Regions from separate parts of the Homo sapiens genome. Here all the other regions are linked to region 1. The links are contacts of gene promoters, found by promoter capture Hi-C in blood cells and fetal thymus (Javierre and others, 2016). All regions are on one chromosome and are shown on one strand. The core of a region is centred on a gene start or on the middle of the fragment in contact, and the rest is flanking DNA. Distances in the headings are between cores, read along the strand shown. Region 1 holds the start of CALCRL (calcitonin receptor like receptor). Region 2 overlaps LOC105373785 (a long non-coding RNA gene). Region 3 holds the start of LOC124907920. Region 4 overlaps LOC124906105 (a long non-coding RNA gene). Region 5 overlaps ITGAV (integrin subunit alpha V). Region 6 overlaps ZSWIM2 (zinc finger SWIM-type containing 2). Region 7 has its middle 32 kb from the start of ZSWIM2.

Region 1 (3,125 bases), core at 264-2,763:
AGAGAGAGAAATCAGCCATGATACTCTTAAAGAATCACAAATCTAAGAATTAATTTAAATTTTCATTATATTGAGGAATTTGTGGAAAAATTGAGTTGTAAATTACTGAGGAGTTACTCAGGATGTTTGTAGTCTATTATTAATGTGCCAGATATAAGTGATTAAGTACAGGATGCTTCCAATGCAGGACATCTTGGAAAGTATAATTGCATTTAGGTAAGAAAATATATAACTTAAAAATCATATCTATCAACATCATTTAAAATTTGACATCAAACTTTCTCCAGCAACAAATTTGTGATATATCTACACAAACAATTTATTAAGCAGACATTAGTTTCTTAAATTGTTCAGGACAGTCTGTACTATCGGAATGAGCATTAACAGATGTTTTATCCAACATTTCAGTAAGTTCCATCCTGGAAATTCTTTTTTAATAAATACTTTAATTTCTTTGTTTAATCGTCTAATATACTTCTTTGGGAAAGCTGTCACGTTTCTTTATCCACAGATATCGTGGTATCACACCCCCCTCCAAAAGCTTGCAGAGGGGAACCAGTCAAGTTGAAGTATTCTCTTAAAGATTTCAAAATTAAGAATTGTTTTAAAAATCTACATTTCCTAAACTCTAGGTTTTTTTTTTTCTTTGTAGCCGACACCATGATCCAAATAAAGAGCAAACAGTTCAGGGTTAGCAGAAGAGAGATTTAAACACATCTGGCAACAATGAACACAAAAATTAGTTCAGTAGTTACAGATATATGTGTAAATAAAGGTGAAAGGCAAATAAAAGCAAATGTAATAAATACAAAGTGATTACTTTTCAAAACTCTGCATTATGATCAACCACAGAGTAAGTGAGACTCCGAGACCCATTAAGTAGTTATTCTTTCACCTCTTTCTTACAGCTGATAACATGGAAAGTTTAAAGACCCTTCCGGGGGGAGAAATGTTTTCCAGTTGTCAAGATTCAAGCTTAGCTAATATTAGAGCTAATTTTAAAAGACATTGTTCTGTGATTAAGGTATTTGTTCAGAAATATGTCTTTTAATCCATTTAGATTTTTAATACTTGCTAAATTTATTTTCTAGAATACCATGGTAAACAATATTATCTAGTAGTATTAGATTTTGTATTCATGTTGGGGTAGTAGGCTGTATTTTCTCTAGCATGTGAAATAAGTGAGACTATGTTTCAACATTATTTCAGTGCTATCTACTAAATTCTATAATAGAAACATTGCCAAACTATATGAGAATACTACTTAGAATAAATATATTTATTTTGAATGTGCACTTACCCAGTCCAGCTCTTAAGGAAATTCTTTGTGAAATATTCTCAGGATGGAACTTTACTTTCTGAGATTCCGCAGAAGAGATTTACCCACAAGCAAGGTGGGAAAGAGTGAAAGCTTTGCAATGTGATCCTGCAATTAGGATGAGATTCAGTTAGCAGAGCTTGATGGTCCTAAAGCAGGAGGTGACACTCTCTGCTGGAGAGAGAGAGGTTGTTCTGAGTAGATTGTAAGTGTTGTCAGATTGTAAGTGATCAGCAGCAGAAGGGAAACATCAGAGCTTCCTGTTACATCACTCTGACCCCGCCTGCAGTTAGTGTTAGGTTACTTTCTTTCTCAAATAGCATACCCCAGGAAAGCAGCACTCCTTTCTTATTGTGAGACAAGAGCAAGAAGCAGCCTGAACAGAGAGAGATCATAGGCTGTGTGAATACATTGTTACCAGTAAAAAGCTGGCTGGCTTTCACCTTGACTGAGTTCTGTTAGAACTTGCCAAACAAGCTACTTGTGATTTGAAGGAAATCTGAATATAGTATTCTGCTCAAAGAATCAAAGGAGTTAGGCGTGTGTGTGTGTGTGTGTGTGTGTGTGTGTGTGTGTGTGTTGAATTATAGCTTACAAAGTATCCAGGAAAAAAAATCTAACAAATCTGTGTTCATAGCACAACACAGAAAAAAAAATTAACTGTATTCATCATAACTGGTTTTGTGATTTGGCTCTTCTTAATTTGGAGCTCTGCTAATTGGGTGCTGTTCCTCCATCAGTTCCTAAGTGCAGTTCCTAATCAGTTAATTAGATCAAGAAACTTTATCCTGCAGTTTTTAAATCTTTTATTTTTTCCTTTACCTTCTTCATAAGAACATGAGTGTATGTGTTATAAATTCAGGTTGTGTATGTGTGTGTATAGAGTGTTTCTTTTATAATATATAAGTATATATATTTGACAAAATAGCCTTTTGAATAATTCATAATTTTAAAATTATTGCACACATTTAAAAATATTTGGTATAATTATGTTATTTATAATATAAAATAATTTATACCACAATATTTGTAAGTCAATATAATCTTAAAGAAAATATAGATGTTGTAAACATAATATTATAAAATAATATAAATACAAAGGATACTTTATTTCTTAGACAAAATTTCATCTCAAAGCATAGTTTTTCCTGAATATGTTTAATACATCATTGGATATGATCAGGGGAAAATGTAAATTTAAAATGCTTTTATCATTTTTATAATTTGGTAAATGTTCGATATGAAGCAATAATTATAATCCCTATAACCTAAACAGCACTAAAAGTCACTTAATTTATCAGGGCATAAATTTTCTCATCTATAAACTAGAAGAGATAGATTTTATGTCTAAGGCTTTGAATCGACAAATTTCATAACATTTTGAAATAGATAAGATACGGTGAGGATCATTCAACTCTTAGTAAATTGTTAGTGCAATTCCAGGATAAAATGAGGTGCCATACACCTTGTAGGCAGACAAAGGAGGTAAAGGCAAAATAAATTCAGGAATATCATGTTTTTAAAGCAGGGTGCTCATGTTGACATTTTTATTGTCTGAATTAGTGGAAGAAAATGTTTATACAATCTTTGATTTTAAGACCAGTGAGATCAATATTGATTACAAAATACAGACATATAAAAAATAGATATACTTTCATCTCTATAATTATGGTTAATAGAAAAGACTTGTAAGAAACTGAGTTACACTGGTGAACCGGTTCTGATACTGTCTGGTGTGATCTTGACAAAGCTTTTTAGGCTTCATGTTCCCATCTTGAAATTCAGAGAAAAACAAATACTAGATTTA
Region 2 (3,125 bases), core at 162-2,661, 970 kb before region 1:
GAAGACGAAGTGCTATTTCGCGTCCAGAGCACAAGTAAATATATTAGCAACGTTTTCCTTTCCACATTGCCCATTTCCCATTCCCCACTATTACAAACCCACATTCCATGACAAGCAGCTGAGGCATCATCAGGGGAACTCAAAAGAAAAGGCACCTACAAATGTATGCATACACCTAGTTAAAGACATTTATCCTTGTAAGTGCCATCTATTAATTTTGTTCCTTTATTGTGTAATCTTGGACTTAGGGACAAATAGCACATCACCATTATTATTGGAAAAATCCCCAGATGTATCAGGGTGATCATAACATCTTGGCACAGAAGATTTTGTTAAATTCATATTCAAAAGATAAGATAAATACCAAAACTAAATATACTCTTATAGCACAAATGGGGCAAGAACTCTCAGCCAGCTCTAGTTCTCGCTCATCATCTTTTTTTATTCCAAGACCAAGTCTCGCTCCTTGCGCAGGCTGGAGTGCAGTGGCACAATCTCTGCTCACTGCAACCTCCCCCTCCTAGGTTCAAGCTACTCTCGTGCCTCAGCCTTCCAAGTAGCTGGGATTACAGGCATGTGCCACCACGCCCAGCTAATTTTTGTGTTTTTAGTAGATACGGGGTATTGCCATGTTGCCAAACTAGTCTCGAACTCCTGGGCTCAAGTGATTCACATTTGGCCCCCCAAAGTGCTGAGATTACAGGCGTGAGCCACTGCACCCGGCCACCATCGCTCATTTTTAAAAGCACATTTATTGAGCTCTTTCTAAGAGACAGGTTGCATTAGGCACCTGATGGGAGCCAAGGTTCCTGCTCCCATGAAGCTTATATTCTGGGACAAGAGATACCCAAGTAAGAAATGAAGACATAAAAACACAAAGTAATTACAAATTAAGATAAATCTAAAATTAAAGGAGTGAAACACATGATGACATAGATATTAACTAGGAGCAGAGGGTAGAAGTTGTTTAGATGTAGTGGTCAGGGATAACTGTTTAGAAGAATTGCCACCTGAGCTGCTATCTGTAGGATGAAAATGAGTCAGCCATGTGGAGACCTGTGGGAAGAATATATCCAAAAAGGGAACAAGGGAAACGATACCTTAAATACAATGTCATAATTACAAAAAAGACCCCTCAAAAATGCCAGTTATCAGCAGATGGCAGTATCCATATATGTAAGAAAAGAAATATAGGTCAATAGAGTTGGAAATATACACTTGTTTCAGATAGCCATGTCTTAAATTGGATGTCCAGTATGATTCATCCTAATGTGGAATGAGTAAGTAGCCGTATTTAAGCCAACTCAAGGCAAAATTACCAGGCCCTGTTGATACTCTACTACCCAAAAAGTTCTTCTCCCTAGGGTCCCTGCCACAGTTGCCTCTTTTCACTTTCCTCCCTAAACTTCTTTTTCTGTATTTACCTTTTAAACATTGTTCCTCACATTTTTATTCTTTTTTGGCTCTCTACAATCTTTTTCAAAGTAATCCATTCCCATTGGCCACCATGTTCTAAACTCTCTTCTGAGTTTACAAGTCAAATATATACCATTGGATTTTGCCACATAAATGACGCACTAGGACCATAAATTCAGCAGAGCCAAAACTGGATATGTTATTTCTTGCCCTGGCCACACATTCCAATCATTGCCTATGTAACCTCCCTGGCACCCACATTGATCACTTGCCCATGCTTGCCACCTGGATCCTCTTCTACTTTCTGACTTCTTCCCCTCAGCTCCCACATTCAGTCACCCAATCTCCTGATTTTATATTCTCCATATTTACTGGAGTAAGCTCATTTAGAAATTAATGTATCAATGCTGAATTCCTTACTTCTTTACACTATGACCTGAATTATATAGTAGTATCCACTAATTATGTGTTTACATGTGCCAAGTACTCTAATAAGTGACTGACATGCATTATATCATTTCGTCCTTCCAATAGCCCTATGAGCTAGGAACAGTATTATTCCTCTTTTATATATAAGAAGAGTAAAGCTTACCAGTGTCCAACAATTTGCCTAAAGTCACCTATATAAGTGGAAGGGAAGAAATTTAACCCACATATTTTGACTATAAAACATGACCTTTTATACAGTGTGTCATAAAAGAGAAATGGAAAATTAGCTTTCATAAGAAGAATCTAATTTGATAGTTCTTTTAGGAACAACTTTCCCACTTCAAAGGTTTTAGGATTCAAGGATAAATGACACTAAATCCAGCTATAAGGTGAGATGGTATTCAATCCATTAAAACAGTGGTTCTGAAATGTTTTCAGGTAGCAAATACCTGGAACTTGTGGTGTTATATGGAAAAATTTAAAATATATTAATAAATTTAATTTCACCAAAAAGACTGTAACATAAGACCATATTTTACATAAATGTCCCCACATTATTTTGAATATATAGGTTTTCCAGTCACATGAAATATTTGATCCATTACTGTTTCTTTTTTTTTTTAATCTGCTAGGTGAAAAATGCTAGCAATCTACTAATTTTTTAAGAATGACTATGAGGGAAAAAAGCTTAAAATTGAAAAAAAATATTTTTCTGTTAATTAGAAATACATCATCATTCAATTTAGTAGATCATCTTAGTCCAACCTACTGAACTCTTTCATATGAGCATAATTTGAGAACCACTAAAATATACATTTATTAAGCACCTATATTTAAGAAAATATGCAATGCGTTATGGGAAAACAATAAAATATCATGTCTCAGTTTACAAACTTACCGAGAAGAAAAAAAAATTCCTTACAGGGTTTTGATTTTGTCTTCTAAGACTATATAAATGTATGAAAAATGTTTACGCTTATTACAAGAAAATTAACTATTGTAGCTATGGAATAATCATCAATGCAAATTAAAACCTGTATATATGTATATGGGAGGTCTTCAAAGAAGTTATGAAATAGGGTGACACTATCAAATTCATACATTTGAAAATTTACTTTTGGAGTAATGCATTGTGAAGAAATTAGATCAAGAGAAACAGTTGCAATAGTCCAAGTAAAAATGTGGCCCTGAAATAGGATAGTAAAGTAGGAAGGAAATAATTTGAAAGAGGTTCCTTAAGATATAGAATCACTATGAATTGACTTGACTGGATTTGGAGG
Region 3 (3,125 bases), core at 326-2,825, 930 kb before region 1:
AGCCTTGCTGAACTGTGAGTCAATTAAATCTCTCCTTTATAAATTACCCAGTCTGAGGCAGTTCTTTATAGCAGTATGAAAACGGACTAATACAATGTCTCAATGTTAATATTGAGCCTTCTGACCCATATGTATATTCATGTATTTAGGTCTTTTAAAATCACTTCAGCAATAAATGGTTTTTTAAATTTCAGTTCACAATTGTTTGTTGTTAGTATATAGAAATACAGCTGACTTTTGCATTTTAATTTTATCATGCTACCTTGCTAAACTCACTTATTCTAGTAGCTTTTTTGTTGATTTCACAACATTGTCTTCTACATAGACAAACTCCTCTGTAAATGAAGATGATTTTCTTTCTTTCCAATCTGAATACATTTTATTTCTTTGTCTTATGTTATTGCATGAGTCAGCGAACTTATAGACAGTTTTATTCTTTATGCACTGTCTATACCTGCTTTCATGCTACAATGGCAGAGTTGTGTAGTTGCCACAGAGACTGACAGAAAAAGTTGGTCAAATTCTGCCGTACTGTGCTGGTGATGAGAGCAAACATTCTTGCCTTGTTTGTGATCTTAAGTGGAAAGCATTCAGTCTTGCATGATTAAGTAATGACGTTAGCTGTATATCATAAATGCACTGAGGAAGTTTTTTTTCTGTTCCTAGTTTACTGAGACTTAGTGGGGGGTTGCTTTGTATTTTGTTTTAATCAAGAATGGATTTTGGATTTTGTCAAATCTTTTTCTCAATCTACTGAGATGATCAAATGGCTTTTTTAAAAACTTATTAATATGGTGAAAACAGCCTGAATTCCTAGGATAAACCCCACTTGATCCTGATACATTTTCTTTTTATATATTGTTGGATTTGATTTGATAAAACTTAGCGTACTTGTTTCTATGTTCATAATTGATGAATTAATCTGTAGTTTTTGTATCAGGATAATGCTGTTGAAACCAGCTCAATAGTCCCATAGACAGTTATTTTTGATTAAACATAGAAATTGACCCTTCTGCTGTTAAAGCTTGAAATTTATATAGGTTGGTGCAAAAGTAATTGTCAACTTTCGATCAACCCAAAGAACCAGCTTATGGTTTCACTGATTTTTCTCTATAAATTTGCTGTTTCACTGATTTCCCCTCTGATCTTTATTTCTTTTCTTCTGCTTACATGGGGTTTAATTTGCTTTTGTTCCTTAACCTAGCAGTTGAGGTTATTGATTGGATCCTTTTTCTAAAATAGGCATTGAGTACTACAGAACCCCCAGCTAATTCCTCACAGCTAGATCCTCATGTTTACCCAGGTAGCTTATGTTTTTAATCAACATTACTCTACTTTTGACAGAAATAGCTTTGCTAATATTGAGAAACTTAAGGTTTAAGACAACCTGAAAAGAATAATCTGATTTTTCTAATAAGATTCTTTTTTAATGGCCAACATGAATGATACTTTAAGCATTTGAGTAGAAATTCTTTATATATGAATGGAGTATGAAATATTAAAATCTCACTAAAATAACAGATGTAATATAAACGTCAAGAACTGTAGGAGAAATTAATAAAGAGGTCTATTGAATTGCATAAAGAGTGTTTTTGTTGTAATACATGTTTCCTTTGACTTCACTGTTTAAAGTGATTCCCCTAAATATGTTGCTTTTATGTTGAAGCCACAGTAACTACTAACAAATCATTTAAAACCCTATAGAACTTTATAGGAGCTGAAATATTCAGTGGATGACCTCAGAAAAGATACAGATATATCATTATGTCTCATTTTTATTTTCAGGTGTTCAGATTAAAACTATTGCTTTAAATTGGATATTAGAGCTCAAGAAATATTGAGACACGTTTGACCACTTTTGTTTCCTTGGTTCATTTACTTGTCCACATACTGAAGACTACTGTAAAAACAGGGAAAACATTTTTAAATGACAACTTGTTCAAAATCTAAACTTTAAAAACTAAGCTCTAGAAATTCAAGGAAAATAATAAGATGACATTTTGTTTTGCCTCAAGCCCTGAACACATCATTGGTATAATCATTTAGCTAATGTCAAACAACATAGTGTCTGGCAAGATTTTAGCTAGAGTCAACTATCAACTCTCCACAGCTTATCACTGAAATAACAAGCTTCGTGTGACCATATTAAAAATTATCAGTTTTACATTTGAAAGGCCCAGTGCCAACCTGGAAAAAATTGCTTGCATTGATGAGTAATAAATTCTACATTTTGCATATTCTCACAACTGCATGAATTCATTTCACAATGTTGGCAAATAATCTGAATTCTTGGTGGCACGGGTCCTCCGTATGCTGAGCGCCGGTCCCCTGGGCCCACTTTTCTTTCTCTATACTTTGTGTCTCTTTCTTTTCTCAGTCTCTCGTCCCACCCGACTGGAAACACCCACAGGTGTGGAGGGGCAGGCCACCCCTTCATCTGGTGCCCAACGTGGGTGCTTTTCTCTAGGTTGAAGGTATGCTCGAGCATGATCATTGAGGACAAGTCGACGAGATTCCCGAGTACGTCTACAGTCAGCCTTGTGACATTTGAAGTTCTACAATGAACCCGTCGGAGATGCAAAGAAAAGCACCTCCACGGAGACAGAGACACCGCAGTCGAGCACCATCGGCTCACAAGATGAACAGAATGGTGATGTCAGAAGAACAGATGAAGTTGCCATCCACCAAGAAGGCGGAGCCGCCGACATGGGCACAATTAAAGAAGCTGACACAGTTAGCTAAAAAAAAGCCTAGAGAACACAAAGGTGACACAAACTCCAGAGAACATGCTGCTTGCAGCTTTGAAGACTGTATCAACAGTGTCTGCAGGTGTACCCAGCAGCTCCGAAGAGAGCGACCATCGAGAACGAGCCATGATGACAACGGTGGTTTTGTCGAAAAGAAGGGGGAAATGTGGGGAAAAGAAAGAGATATCAGACTGTTACTGTGTCTATGTAGAAAGAAGTAAACATAAGAGACTCCATTTTGTTCTGTACCAAGTAAAATTTTGTCTTGAGATGCTGTTAATCTGTAACCCTACCCCCAACCCTGTGCTCGCAGAAACATGTGCTGTGTCAAGATTTAATGGATTTAGGGCTGTGCAGGATGTGCTTTGTTAAACAAAT
Region 4 (3,125 bases), core at 316-2,815, 860 kb before region 1:
GCCCAGGAAGATGGAGCCCTTTGAGCAAAGATAGCACTCTGGAGAAAAGTTAAGTTATTTAATATGGCTAAAGCTCCTTTGTGAGGTGGGAAGTGTTAAGAAATGAGAGTTGAGAGCATGACAATGCATAAGATCACCCTGAGGAGAACTGCAGTGATTCAAGAACAGAGACTTAGGGAATCCTAGCATTGAAGGGGTAGTTTAGGAAACATGGCCCAGAAAGGTAACAAGTTTACTGCCTGCCTTCTCTTCTTTCCCATTCACCCAAAGAGCAGAAGTGCTGGCCAGAATCTTTTCTGATACAGATCAGATAGGAAAGGGCAGCACTGGGAGTGGAAGTGGTTATGGGGGTGAAGAGAGAACAAGTCAGTCTCCCTAATAAACAGCCAAGAGAGGAGTGACAGGAGTGAGTTAGACAAGCAAACAGCAACAAAAATTCCAGGGCAGGGTTTAGTGGGTTAAAGTCTCCAGAGAAATTGAGAGTAGAAGAAGCAGATTTCTGAAGTTCCCATGGGTTATTAACTGAATCTCCTTTGAGGTTCTTTGAGAGAGATAAAATTTGAAATTCCTCTTAAATTATGGACTAAGTTCCTTTGTTTGCAGAGACAGAGCTGCGTGAAGCCCTGGTTTGATTATGGTTATTGAAGGACCTGTTGGACAGACACTAGGGGAACTAAGAGAGTGAAATAATAGTCATAAAAATTTACGGCAGGAGAATTGCTTGAACCCAGGACGCGGAGGTTGCAGTGAGCTGACATGGCGCCACTGCACTCCAGCCTGGTGACAGAGTGACACTTTGTTTCAAAAAAAAAAATTTATTATTGCTACCATGCTAAACTATTAGTCTTAAAAGTATTAATGGCAACAAGAACTGTTCAATTCTAAGAGATAGACATAGTATTACTCCCCTTTCCCTTTCATAGATAAGAAAACTGAGGCACAGATTGGTTGGATTGATTTCCCCAGGGTCATACAACTAGTAGTTGGCAAAGCCAGGAATGGAACCCAGGTGCTTTATTTTACAGAAACCACTGGAATCAAGATTTTTACTAAAGTATAGGGTAGTAGAGGATAAAATTCAAAGTACAAATTCTTTTTACTATCTAATATTTTATTTTCTAAGAAAAGGATTATATTCAATGAATACTTAATGTATACACAGAAGTTCTCCTTTTAAGTTGGAAAACTGTTATAATGTAGTTCAAAGAGTAGTGTCATGGGGGTAGGGGAGGGGCACCACCATTCTTTCGTAGACTAAAACATTCTTTTCTCTGTCCCATGCACATAGTACCAGGTGCAATGTGGATTTTGAATCAGCACTAGCTGAATTGACATGTTCTACAATACAATTTGCAAGGCACTGTGTGAGTGGCTGCTCGAGCATGGTCACACAAAGAGATGCCTGCATTTATAACCCCAAGTTTCTAAAGCCACTGGGTTAGTCTGCTTCATAGTTTCCTAATTGAAATGTATGTTTGCTTTTTTTTGTTGTTAGACAGTCTCGCTCTGTCACCCAGGCTGGAGCACAGTGGCCCACAATACCACAATATCTCGGCTCACTGTAGCCTCTGCCTTCCGGGTTCAAGCAATTCTCCTGCCTCAGTCTCCTGAGTAGCTGAGATTACAGGCACACACCACCATGCCTGGCTACTGTTTTTTCTTTTTTGAGATGGAGTCTCATTCTGTCATCCAGGCTGAAGTGCAGTGGCACGATCTTGGCTCACTGAAACCTCTGCTTCCCAGGTTCAAGTGATTCTCCTGCCTCAGCCTCCCAAGTAGCTGGGATTACAGGTGCCTGCCACTGCACCCAGCTAATTTTTGTATTTTTAGTAGAGATAGGCTTTCACCATCTTGGCCAGGCTGGTCTTGAACTCCTGACATCGTGATCCACCCACTTTGGACTCCCAAAGTGCTGGGATTACAGGTGTGAGTGAGCCACTGCGCCCGGCCAATTTTTGTATTTTTAGTAGAGACGGGGTTTCACTGTGTTGGCCAGGCTGGTCTTGAACTCCTGACCTCAGGTGATCCACCCACCTCGGCCTCCCAAAATGCTGGGATTACAGGCATGAGCCACAGTGCCTGGACTATTTGCTTTTTTAAAAAAAACAAATTCCTTGATTTTCAAGACTGCTCATTCAAAATAAACTCATAAAGAATGGCTCAACAGTAAGTGCTTTCAGTAAGTTGTAGCCCTATTTGGGGGTGTGTTGTTCACCCAAGTTTTGGTGGGTGTACATGTGTTGTCATTTCGTGGGCTTCTTCTTTTCCCTGGTCCTCTCACATTTCTTCACTCCACCTTGGTCTGTCGGACCCCTGTCCTGCGATCAGAAGTTGAGGAGTGGGAGACTTACTGGATCTAGCCAGAGTTTAAACTCTTCTGTCTTCCTTACCTGGATGGATTTCCAGGTAGACTGGTTGTCATGTTTTTAAGATATAAAAGACCCTTTGGGTTTATGCATACATATCAATAGCCTCTTTGGTGTATTAGGAAAGAAGGTGAGAAATAAGCTGTATTTGCATTTATGTGTAAGGATTTGTGTAGGATTTCTTCTCTCAATCAGTAATTTCTTTCAGGCAGATGCTAGACCATGCCTTGTAAAACATGCCAAAGGTTTTGCTGCATATCTTTTAGTCAAATTTAAAAATGGAAATATTTAATGCATTTTTTTTTTGAGATGGAGTCTCACTCTGTGGCCCAGGCTGGAGTGCAGTGGCACCATCTCAGCTTACTGCAGCCTCCGCCTTCCGGGTTCAAGCAATTCTCCTGCCTCAGCCTCCTGAGTAGCTGGGACTGCAGGCGCATGCCGCCACGCCCGGCTAATTTTTTGTATTTTAGTAGAGACGGGATTTCACTGTGTTGCCCAGGCTGGTCTCGAACTCCCGAGCTCAGGCAATTTGCCGGCCTCAGCCTCCCAAAGTGCTAGGACTACAGGCATGAGCCACCTCGCCCGGCCTTTTTTTTTTTTAAACACAGGGTCTTGTTCTGTCACTCAGGCTGGAGTGCAGTGGCAGGCTCATGACTTATCATAACCTGGAACTCCTGAGCCTAAGCGATCTATCTACCTGCCTTAGCCTCCGGCATAGCTGGGACTACAGGCATGCACCACACTCCCAGCTAATTTTTA
Region 5 (3,125 bases), core at 383-2,882, 800 kb before region 1:
TTTGTTTGTTTTGTTTTGTTTTTTGTTTTTTTTTTAGACTGAGTCTCATTCTGTCGCCAGGCTGGAGTGCAGTGGCACGATATCGGCTCACTGCAACCTCCGCCTCCTGGGTTCAAGCGATTCCCCTGCCTCAGCCTCCTGAGTAGCTGGGACTACAGGCACCCACCACCATGCCTGGCTAATTTTTGTATTTTTAGTAGAGATGGAGTTTCACCATGTTGGCCAGGATGGTCTCAATCTCTTGACCTCGTGACCCACCCGCCTCGGCCTCTGAAAGTGCTGGGAATACAGGCGTGAGCCACCGTGCCCAGCCGATTTACCTTTAAGGCTTAAAAAAGGATAAAAAGAATACTTTTACATAAGTTAGGTACTCATTTTTAAGGATAACAAATTCTTAGTTGGTGTTTACTGCAGGCCAGGCACTCTTCTAGGTGGTGAAAATGAGCATAAATCAGAGTCTACTCATGTCTTTAAGAAACTCAGCATCCAATGGGGGCAGCATATATGTTTAAAAAAAAAAAAGTACCTCAATGTGATCATCACAGTGTTTGAGATCCCAGGCTTAATGGTCTCATATAAAGGATGAGTGATCAAGGCATCGTTGATGTTTCAGGGGAGCCAGGAGATGATGAGGCATGGCTTATTAAGGAGCTATGAGACAGCTCGTGTACATTAAGGAAATTGAGGCAATTTGTTATGACTGGTACGTAGGGTCTGTGATAGGCAAGATACGACATGTCCTTGGTCTCATGAAGCTTATGTTCTATAGCTTACTTACTTTGTGTAGTCATAGAATAAGTAAACAATGGGGAAATCCAGATAGTGATAAAGATGATGGATTTTTTAGAAGGCAAGGTAATATAATAGAGTTTCGGGATAGAGAGGGTGATAGAGAAAGTAGGGGGTCGAGAGGGGTGGTGCACTGCTGCGTAGGGTGGCTAGGGAATAGCTTGCTGACAGAATGACAGCTGATCTAATGACAGAACGACATTGATCTATCATTTGGACAAATAGAAGGAATAGAGTTGTAAAAGCTCTGGAGCAAAAGGCAGAGAGAATAGCAAATACAAGCCCATAGTTGGAAGCTAGCTTGGTGTGTTTAATAAACAGAAAAAAAGGCCAGGATTGCTGGAAAGAGTAAATAAGGGTAAAAAACTGGATGGCGTGGGGGTGGGGATGGGGAGAGGAATGAGATTTGCATGGTAAACAATGGAAATACCAGGTAGGGTTTAGAACTTACTCTAAATGCTTTGGGAACTAATTGAAGGATTTTAAGATGGGGATGGGTGTGACATGATATGGTGAATGTTTGGCCCTTTTGAAGAGAAAGTTACAGGCAAGAGTAGAAGTGGGAGGCCACTTAAAAGGCTGTTTAAGGCCGGGCGCGTGGTTCACGCCTGTAATCCCCCCACTTTGGGAGGCCGAGGTGTGTGGATCACGAGGTCAGGAGATCGAGACCATCCTGGCTAACACCGTGAAACCCCGTCTCTACTGAAAAAAAAACAAAAAAAATTAGCCGGGCATGGTGGCGGGCGCCTGTAGTCCTAGCTAATCGGGAGGCTAAGGCAGGAGAATGGTGTGAACCCAGGAGGTGGAGCTTGCAGTGAGCCAAGATTGTGCCACTGCACTCCAGCCTGGGGAAAAGAGCGGGACTCTGTCTCAAACAAACAAAAATTAAAAAGAAAAGAAAAAAAGGCTGTTTAAGTGCAAAATGCGGCAATGACTTGTCTAGGGTGGCAGCAGCAGAGAGAGAAGTGGGCAGATTGGTAATACATTTTAGAGGTAGAAAAGATAATTTGGTGTTTGGGGTTTTTTAAAGATTTAAAATGTTATTCATTTATCTTCTTTCAGTGTAAGTTGAGCAAGATCAAGATGAAGTCACAACTTACGAATTTCTGAGCAGATTGGCTTCTGTTCAGAAAAAACAATACCATCCATAAATAAATTATCTAGAATTTTGAGAGTGAAAATAAACTTTAGATGAATCTTTTGATGTGTCCTCCTCCATCCCCTACCCCTAGTTTTAATGAGGAAGCATTTGTGGTCCAGAAAGTTTAAGTGATTGGTTTAAGGTCAGAGCCAGATTATCTGGCCCTAAATTAATGTCTTTTCTGTACAGTTTTGCTTGAGTTTCCTTGAATTAGATTATTGCTTATGGATAAAGAGTACCCTACTGAACTTTGAATTAGTATTTATCATGATGAATGGGTTCTATAAATATTAAGATCTGTACAAATAATTACAAGTACTGAAACTTTCTTCTCTTCATCCTTGCCCTCTTCCCCCCTTCTCTCGTTCCTTCCTCATTCTTCCCTTTCTTTTCCTCCTCCTTACTTCTGTCATTCTCCTTCCCCCTCCTCTTTTTTTCCCCACAGATATTGCAATTGCTGCTCCATATGGGGGTGAAGATAAAAAAGGAATTGTTTATATCTTCAATGGAAGATCAACAGGCTTGAACGCAGTCCCATCTCAAATCCTTGAAGGGCAGTGGGCTGCTCGAAGCATGCCACCAAGCTTTGGCTATTCAATGAAAGGAGCCACAGATATAGACAAAAATGGATATCCAGGTGCTTTCTTATCAACACATAGAGCCCTTAGATTTTTCAGTCCTAATAGCAAATAGTATTAGTTACTGTTCTTGATTTATGTTATAAATTATTGCAATTCAGTATTTCATATGTTGATCAAACCTCTAAAATATTCAAGGCATCATTCCCGTCACCTAAGGGTATATGAAGAAAAGTCAGCTCTCTTTCCTGGGAGTGTACAGTGTACTCTGAGTTTCTCCTGTAGTCTTTAATGAAATGAGAAGAGTATTACAGAAGTTATAAACAAAAGTTAAATGCTCATTCTAAGCTGTTTTAATGTTAGCTATCTTTTTTATTTTTTTAATTATGTAGAATATATGTACTTGACTAATAGTTGTGATTTTTTTTTTTTTTTAAGACAAGGTATGTCTCTATTGCCCAGGCTGGAGTACAGTGGCACAATCTTGGCTCATTGCAGCCTCCACCTCCTGGGCTCAAGCCATCCTCCCACCTCAGCCTCCTTAGTAGCTGGGACTACAGGCAAGCACCACCATGCCTGGCTAATTTTTGCATGGTTTGTAAAGAGTGGTTTTTGCC
Region 6 (3,125 bases), core at 424-2,923, 610 kb before region 1:
CCTAGCTGAATATCCCTTATTAAAAATTTATAAAAATTCTGTACTTCCACCCCAAGTTAGAATCCTCCCTAGGAGCCTTCTCAGGCCAGCCATTTTCCAGTAAATACTTTTGTTAATAATCAACTTTCTTTTGTGTTACACATACAGAAAACAAAACTAAATTCAAAGGAGAAAGGTATAATTTGCTGTTGGATGTGATAATGTTTTACGGTTTTATGACAGAGTTTTAATATATATATAAATTAGATTGGGCTCATCATAATGTAATTCAAGAAGGCTGAAAAATAAACTGATACATTTCAAAAAAATGTGACAAAGATTGAAATAATGTTTTCTTCTTAATGTACTGTTAACTTAAAATTTTAATTAAGAAAATACAAATTTCCTAGGCATAGCAATTAATTTATGTTTTATCGTGAGAATTGTGGGAAAGTTTGGGGGTTACTCACAGTGAAAATTGTTTGCTCTAATAATTACTATGTTTTTGTAGTTGTTGAAGTATAAGATATGAAATAAAACAAAACCTGTACTCATTGCCATTTGGAGTAGGGGGGACTGGATTAAATATTCAGTCAATCCAGTCAATGTCTCTCTGGCCCAATCTTCGGAATTTTTGGCAATGACTTCAAAGGTAGTTCAAAGAAAGTTACAGAGGGTGAGAGATCCAGCAAGGCTCTAAGCTTGGAAACCTATGTAGGCTAAAGCCACCTATCCTGTGTCCAGAGCTTCTAGGATGGGGTGCTACTTCAGACCCAATCTGGACCAGAGCTCAAACCAATACCCTTGAACAGGAGAAGAAAATAAAACGATTGGAGTTCCTGAGATACTGGACTGAGATAGAAGTCAGTCTGTGAGTCCTAAATAAGCAGTCGTCACACAAGTCAAACAGTATATGCAGGAAGAGGGAGGCTACAGAACGGGTACTCTAATGCTCAAAGTTTCCTGATGTAAAAAAATAAAAAAGAACACATGCTTATAATTTACGGATAACACTTACTTATAACACTTCCCCTCAATTGGAAACTGTTTGCAGTTATTACAGGGAATCCCAAGGTGTTTGTCCAGTCTCTCTTTTTCTGCTGCAGCTACTAGTTTGCTAGAGTTTTTGAATTCCTCCAAAATCAGTTTTAATGGTGCAAACTCTTTCCTGCACAGAGGACATTTCAACATGGAAGTGTTTGATGTACTCTGATAATTAGCTAAGATCTTCATGCATTTTATATGAATACTATTGCCACAGCCAAACCTATGAGAGATAAAATTGAAGTTTACCATTTGTATAGAGCAGTTTTACATATCCATTGTATATATATATATATATTATATATATATTTATATAAATAAAATTTCCTGTGCTACCATCTTTATTCCACAAAAAAATAGATTCTGAACTGATTTTCAGCTATAGCTTGATTACACACACACACTCACTCATTCTAGTAATCTATCATCTTTAATACATCAGAATTCCAAACTTAAATTTTCCTTCATTCCAATGAAATGGTGAAAGATTTTGCATCATTAAAATATTTTCATTTGTAAAGTGAGAATGAATATAGGCTTAACACAAAGGAGAATAATAATTATTATTATTTTAATAAAATGCTTCACTGAGAGCAGGGGTGCCACCATACTTTTCCAGAAGTCACACAATACATGGTAGTACCAAAGAAATATCTGCTGAGAGAAATACCATTTTGGAAAGTAGTTAATAATTTTACAATATGCAATAGAAGCAGACACATGAACAACTACAGTGTGGACAAAAGTTTTGTTAAATTATCAGAAGAAAAAAGAATGATCAGGAGAAAAAAATTGCAATGGAAAATGACTGTCCAAATTTTTCAAGTCCAACTTTATAGTGCTGTGAAGAAAAGTATGAACATTAGACTCTCAATAAAGATTTAAAGTATAATAAAAAAATTAAAAATAAAATAAAATAAAAGTAGACAGCTGATCTGAGGTCTAACAAAACAAGAATTGGTTATGTAGACAGAATGAAAGGGATGAAAGAAATATTATTGTTGGCATTAATGAGTAAAAAAAAAAAAAGATTTGTACATATGTGAAAATTGAATTATTTAGGTTTAAAGATAGAATTTTGAAAAACTAAAAATAATTTTTGTAATTTCAAAGTAAAATAATCTTTACTTTCAGAAAAGTCTTTATAACTATAATAAACCATCACATTTATTCATGTGTATAAAATAAAAACACAGAAATTACTCTACCCTTGTTACTTAAGGTGGGAAGAGGAATAATTGTGGAATTATGTTTCAGTTTTTACCCTTGTAGTGTAGCTCAGAAAGATTTAGAGTAAGAGCATATATTTAGCTCAAAACATATATATACACACACATATATATGTTGCTTCCTAACATATATGTTATATATAATATATATATTTCTATGATATATATTTATATATTATAGATATTATATTTATATTGTAATATATTATAATATATTTATATTATATATATTATATATATGTGTGTGTGTTAGGAAATAAAAGAATGTTAATTAAGTATAAATTAGCAGTAGGTAAAGTTGTCTATTTTTTCCCTATCATGTCTCCTAAGGTAATAAATCAGAAATATGTTTTAGAATTTTTAATTAGTTTTAAGAATCTAAAGAAAAAGTACATCACCTGCAAAAGGTGACAGGAAGCTTTTTCTCTAAAAGTAGCTCTTGACAAATAGAGCAGATATCCTCTGAATCAATTTCCTTCTGTTTAATGTACCCATCTTCTTCAACATGTTCATTTTCGTCATTTGTTCCTGGTTGGGGAGTTTGAACTCGATGTATCCCCCGAAGCAAGTCACTTATCTCTCTTTCTCCAAGACCCAGTTGTAAAGCAGCTAGTGAGAAATCCCAAAGTATTAAAATCCAGTCATAAAATTGGAGCTACAGAGAGGTAACAACTTATGCTGAAAGTTAGAATTTTCTTTCAAATATCAGAGAGACAGTTTTGATTGAATTATCACACTGACATTGACCCCTTCTTTACATTTTTTTCAGAGCCAAAATGTCAGAAAAGAGTCATTTAAAAAAATATAAAAATTATTATTTTTTCTTGTAACTGAAAAAGAGTCAATGCAAACAGTGCACTTGAATATGATAGT
Region 7 (3,125 bases), core at 401-2,900, 570 kb before region 1:
ACTTTTTTGAAAAACCAACTTTGTTAATTTTTTTCTAGTTTCTATTTCATTTCTATTTCCATATATTTGTCAATTTTCCAGTTTTTCTACTGCTATAGATATATAGTTTCATTCTATTGTGGTTGGAAAAATACCTTCATATGATTTCAATCTTCTTAAATTTGTTAAGACTTGTTTTGTGACCTAACATATGATCTATCATGGAGAATGTCCCATGTGAACTTGTCAAATATGTGTATTCTGGTGCTGTTGGGTGGAATATGTGTATATATATATATATGTGTGTGTGTGTGTGTGTGTGTGTGTGTATGTATATATATGTGTGTGTACATATATAAATTTAGTGTATTCGCTTGAGGATTTTTACATCTATGTCGAAAGTAGTATATTGAAGTCTGCTATTATTATTTTGTTGCCTATTTTGCCCTTCAATTCTGTCAATGATTGCTTCACATATTTAAGTGCTGTGATGTTGAGTGCAGATAGATGATAGATAGATAGATAGATAGATAGATAGATAGATAGATAGATAGATAGATAGTTATATCTTCCTGTTACAATAGTAACAAGTTGAACCTGTTCTTAACTTGTTATTATTATATCCTTCTTTGTCTCTTTGTGACACTTTATTAAAGTCAATTTTAATAAAGACATTTTATTAAAGTCAATTAATTAAAGTCAATTTTGTCTAAGTATGGCTATTCTTGCTCTTTTGGTTACCATTTGCCTGAAATATCTTTCTCCATCCTTTTATTTTCAGCCTATGTGTGTCATTAAATCTAAGGTGAGTCTCTTATAGTCAGCATATAGTTGGATCTTGTCTTTTTTTTAACCACTATGTCTACTCTAGATTTTTTTATTGTTGAGTTTAATCCGTGGACACTTAAAGTAATTATTGATAGGGAAAAATTTACTACCTCAGTTTTGTTAATTGCTTTCTATCTCATAGTTCTTTTGCCCCTCTTTTCCTCTCTTGTTGTCTTCCTTTGTGTTTCATTGATTTTTTTTTTTTTTGTAGGGACATGCTTTGATTCCTCTCTCATTTGTGTATCTTATATTGGCATTTTCTGTGTGGTTACCATGATGCTTACATAAAACATCTTATAGTTATAACAATCCATTTTAAGCTGATAACTTCAGTTCAATTGCATACAAAAACTACATTTTTGCCCCCTCTTCATGTTATTAATGTCACAAATTACATCTTTTAATATTGTGTATCTATTAACATTTTAATATAGTTGTAGTTATTTTCATACTTTCGTCTCTTAACTCTATACCAAAATTAAAAGTGATTTTTGCACTACAATTACGTTATTATTGTATTTTGTATTTGTCTATATATTTACCTTTATCAACAAGCTTTACAGTTTATATAATTGTATAGAAGTTGCTGTTGCTGTTTTATCTCTTTTATTTCAACTTGAAGGACTCTTTAGCATTTCTGGTAAAGCAGGTCTTACAGTGGTGAACTGTCTCAGCTTTTGCTTATCTGAGAAACTTTGTATTTTTCCTTTATTTTTGAGAAAGAGTTTCACCTAATCTAGTACTCTTTGTTGGCAGTTTTTTCATTTTAGCACTTTGAATATGCCATCAATACCATTACACTCTCTTCTCATCTGTAAGATTTCTGTAGAGAAGTATGCTGATAGTCTAATGGGAGTTGTCTTGTAAATCACAAGTTGCTACTCTCTTGCTGCTTTCAAAAGTCTTTCTTTGTCTGAATTTTGACAATTTGATTATAATGTGGCATGGCGTGGATTTCTTTGGATCTTCCTAATTTGGTTAGATTGGGTGTCTTAAATCTAGGTGTTTATTTTCTTCCCCAGATTTGGAAAGTTTTCATCAATTAAAAAAATAAATTTTATGTTTCTCTTCCTCTCTCTTCTTCTGCAATTTCCATAGTGCATATATTGGTCCACTTGATGGTGTTCTATAAGAAGCTTAGGTCGTCTTCACTTCTTTTCTTCTTTTCCTTTTTGTTCCTCTGACTGGGTAATTTAAAATGACTCAAGTTTAGTTATTCTCTTTTCTTCTTGGTCAAGTGTGCTGTTGAAACTCTTTAGTAAATTTTTTAGTTCACTCACTGCATTCTTCCTCTCCAAAATTTCTGTTAAGTTCTTTTTTATATTTTCTGTTTCTTTATTGAAATTATCTTTTTGTTCATGTATCATTTTTGCTCAGCTCATTGAGCATATTTATGGTTATTTCAAATTATTTGTTGGGAAATTTACATACCTTCATTTCTTTATGGTTGGTTTTTGGAATTTTTTTTTTTGTATCTTTGATTGGATTATTTTCCTCTTTTCCTTCATGTTCCTTGTAACTTTGTGTTGGTACCTATGCATTTGAAAAGACAGTCACCTCTCCTAGTCTTTACAGATTGACTTTATAAAAGGAAAAGACATTCACTAATCAGCTTAGCTAGAGATTTTGAGAATTTCTGAAACATTTTCTATGGATGTATCTTCTCTGAGCATGTTGCTCAGCTTGTTCTTGTTCTCAGTGGCCCGCAGGCATCTAGAAGATATTGGGTCTTATCAGCACCCCAAGTTTTACTAAACAGAAACCAGTGCCTCAGGCATCCCCTCCAAAAGCTGGATCTTTGGATGCATATTCCACTCTTCTCTTTTCCCCCTGAGGGAGAGTCCACTGAGCTATATTGTCTTCTCTCTGCTGTACCATGGGCCCTCTAGAGCAGGAGCACATTGCTCAGCTTGTTTTTCTTTTCATTGGTCCCTAGCCATCTAGATTATGCTGAGTGCTGTCCATGTTTTGAGATAAAAGAGACAGAAATCAGTCCCTTGGACAGCTCCCCCAAAAGCCAAAACACCTGTCCTGTTCTTTTCTTTGCAACCTGAGCAATAGACCATAAAGTCATTATCAGCGTCTGCCTGCTGTACTGTGGTCCCTCTGAAGCAACAGCATGCTATTCAGCTCTATTGTTCGTAGTGGCCCCCAGGCAGCCAGAGTATTCTGGGTCCCATCAGCATTCCAAGAAAGATCAGACAGAAGCTGATCCCCTTGGCAGCTTCCACTAAAGTCAGAACATTGGGCATGTATTTCCATCTTCTCTTTTACTCCCTAGGGAGAAGCCAGGAGCTGAGTGTTTCTTCCTGATCATG

The links. The method cuts DNA at HindIII sites, captures the fragments that hold promoters and counts their contacts. A CHiCAGO score of 5 or more calls a contact.
Region 2: a fragment that was not itself captured here is called in contact with the fragment with the promoter of CALCRL in region 1 in 2 of 17 cell types (monocytes and fetal thymus); the score reaches 9.1 in monocytes.
Region 3: a fragment that was not itself captured here is called in contact with the fragment with the promoter of CALCRL in region 1 in 1 of 17 cell types (monocytes); the score reaches 6.2 in monocytes.
Region 4: a fragment that was not itself captured here is called in contact with the fragment with the promoter of CALCRL in region 1 in 2 of 17 cell types (fetal thymus and monocytes); the score reaches 7.7 in fetal thymus.
Region 5: a contact is called between a fragment that was not itself captured here and the fragment with the promoter of CALCRL in region 1, in 1 of 17 cell types (M0 macrophages). The highest score is 5.4, in M0 macrophages.
Region 6: a contact is called between a fragment that was not itself captured here and the fragment with the promoter of CALCRL in region 1, in 1 of 17 cell types (monocytes). The highest score is 6.8, in monocytes.
Region 7: a contact is called between a fragment that was not itself captured here and the fragment with the promoter of CALCRL in region 1, in 8 of 17 cell types (megakaryocytes, endothelial precursors, M0 macrophages and 5 more). The highest score is 18.2, in megakaryocytes.

What each region holds. Positions count from the first base shown.
Region 1 is chr2:187,446,739-187,449,863 of GRCh38, forward strand. CALCRL (calcitonin receptor like receptor) reads right to left here and starts at 1,514. Exons shown (of 15, transcript NM_005795.6): 1 at 1,301-1,514. All of the region lies in intron 2 of CALCRL-AS1 (CALCRL and TFPI antisense RNA 1), which reads left to right. The HindIII fragment of the contact is 1,657 bases long and covers 1,410-3,066 here.
Region 2 is chr2:186,479,538-186,482,662 of GRCh38, forward strand. The region is part of intron 1 of LOC105373785 (a long non-coding RNA gene); the gene reads right to left. Among named protein-coding and RNA genes, the nearest start is that of ZC3H15, 5.2 kb to the right of the region's middle. The HindIII fragment of the contact is 1,180 bases long and covers 822-2,001 here.
Region 3 is chr2:186,518,617-186,521,741 of GRCh38, forward strand. It overlaps LOC124907920, which reads left to right and starts at 2,465. Exons shown (of 1, transcript XM_047446761.1): 1 at 2,465-2,983. The coding sequence starts at 2,561. The coding sequence ends at 2,968. The HindIII fragment of the contact is 1,106 bases long and covers 1,023-2,128 here.
Region 4 is chr2:186,585,600-186,588,724 of GRCh38, forward strand. All of the region lies in intron 1 of LOC124906105 (a long non-coding RNA gene), which reads right to left. Among named protein-coding and RNA genes, the nearest start is that of ITGAV, 2.9 kb to the right of the region's middle. The HindIII fragment of the contact is 4,635 bases long and covers 1-3,125 here.
Region 5 is chr2:186,644,311-186,647,435 of GRCh38, forward strand. ITGAV (integrin subunit alpha V) reads left to right here. Exons shown (of 30, transcript NM_002210.5): 13 at 2,376-2,567. Among named protein-coding and RNA genes, the nearest start is that of FAM171B, 48 kb to the right of the region's middle. The HindIII fragment of the contact is 1,759 bases long and covers 754-2,512 here.
Region 6 is chr2:186,836,309-186,839,433 of GRCh38, forward strand. ZSWIM2 (zinc finger SWIM-type containing 2) reads right to left here. Exons shown (of 9, transcript NM_182521.3): 4 at 2,651-2,861; 5 at 998-1,246. Among named protein-coding and RNA genes, the nearest start is that of ZSWIM2, 11 kb to the right of the region's middle. The HindIII fragment of the contact is 1,990 bases long and covers 679-2,668 here.
Region 7 is chr2:186,879,788-186,882,912 of GRCh38, forward strand. No RefSeq gene overlaps it. Among named protein-coding and RNA genes, the nearest start is that of ZSWIM2, 32 kb to the left of the region's middle. The HindIII fragment of the contact is 581 bases long and covers 1,361-1,941 here.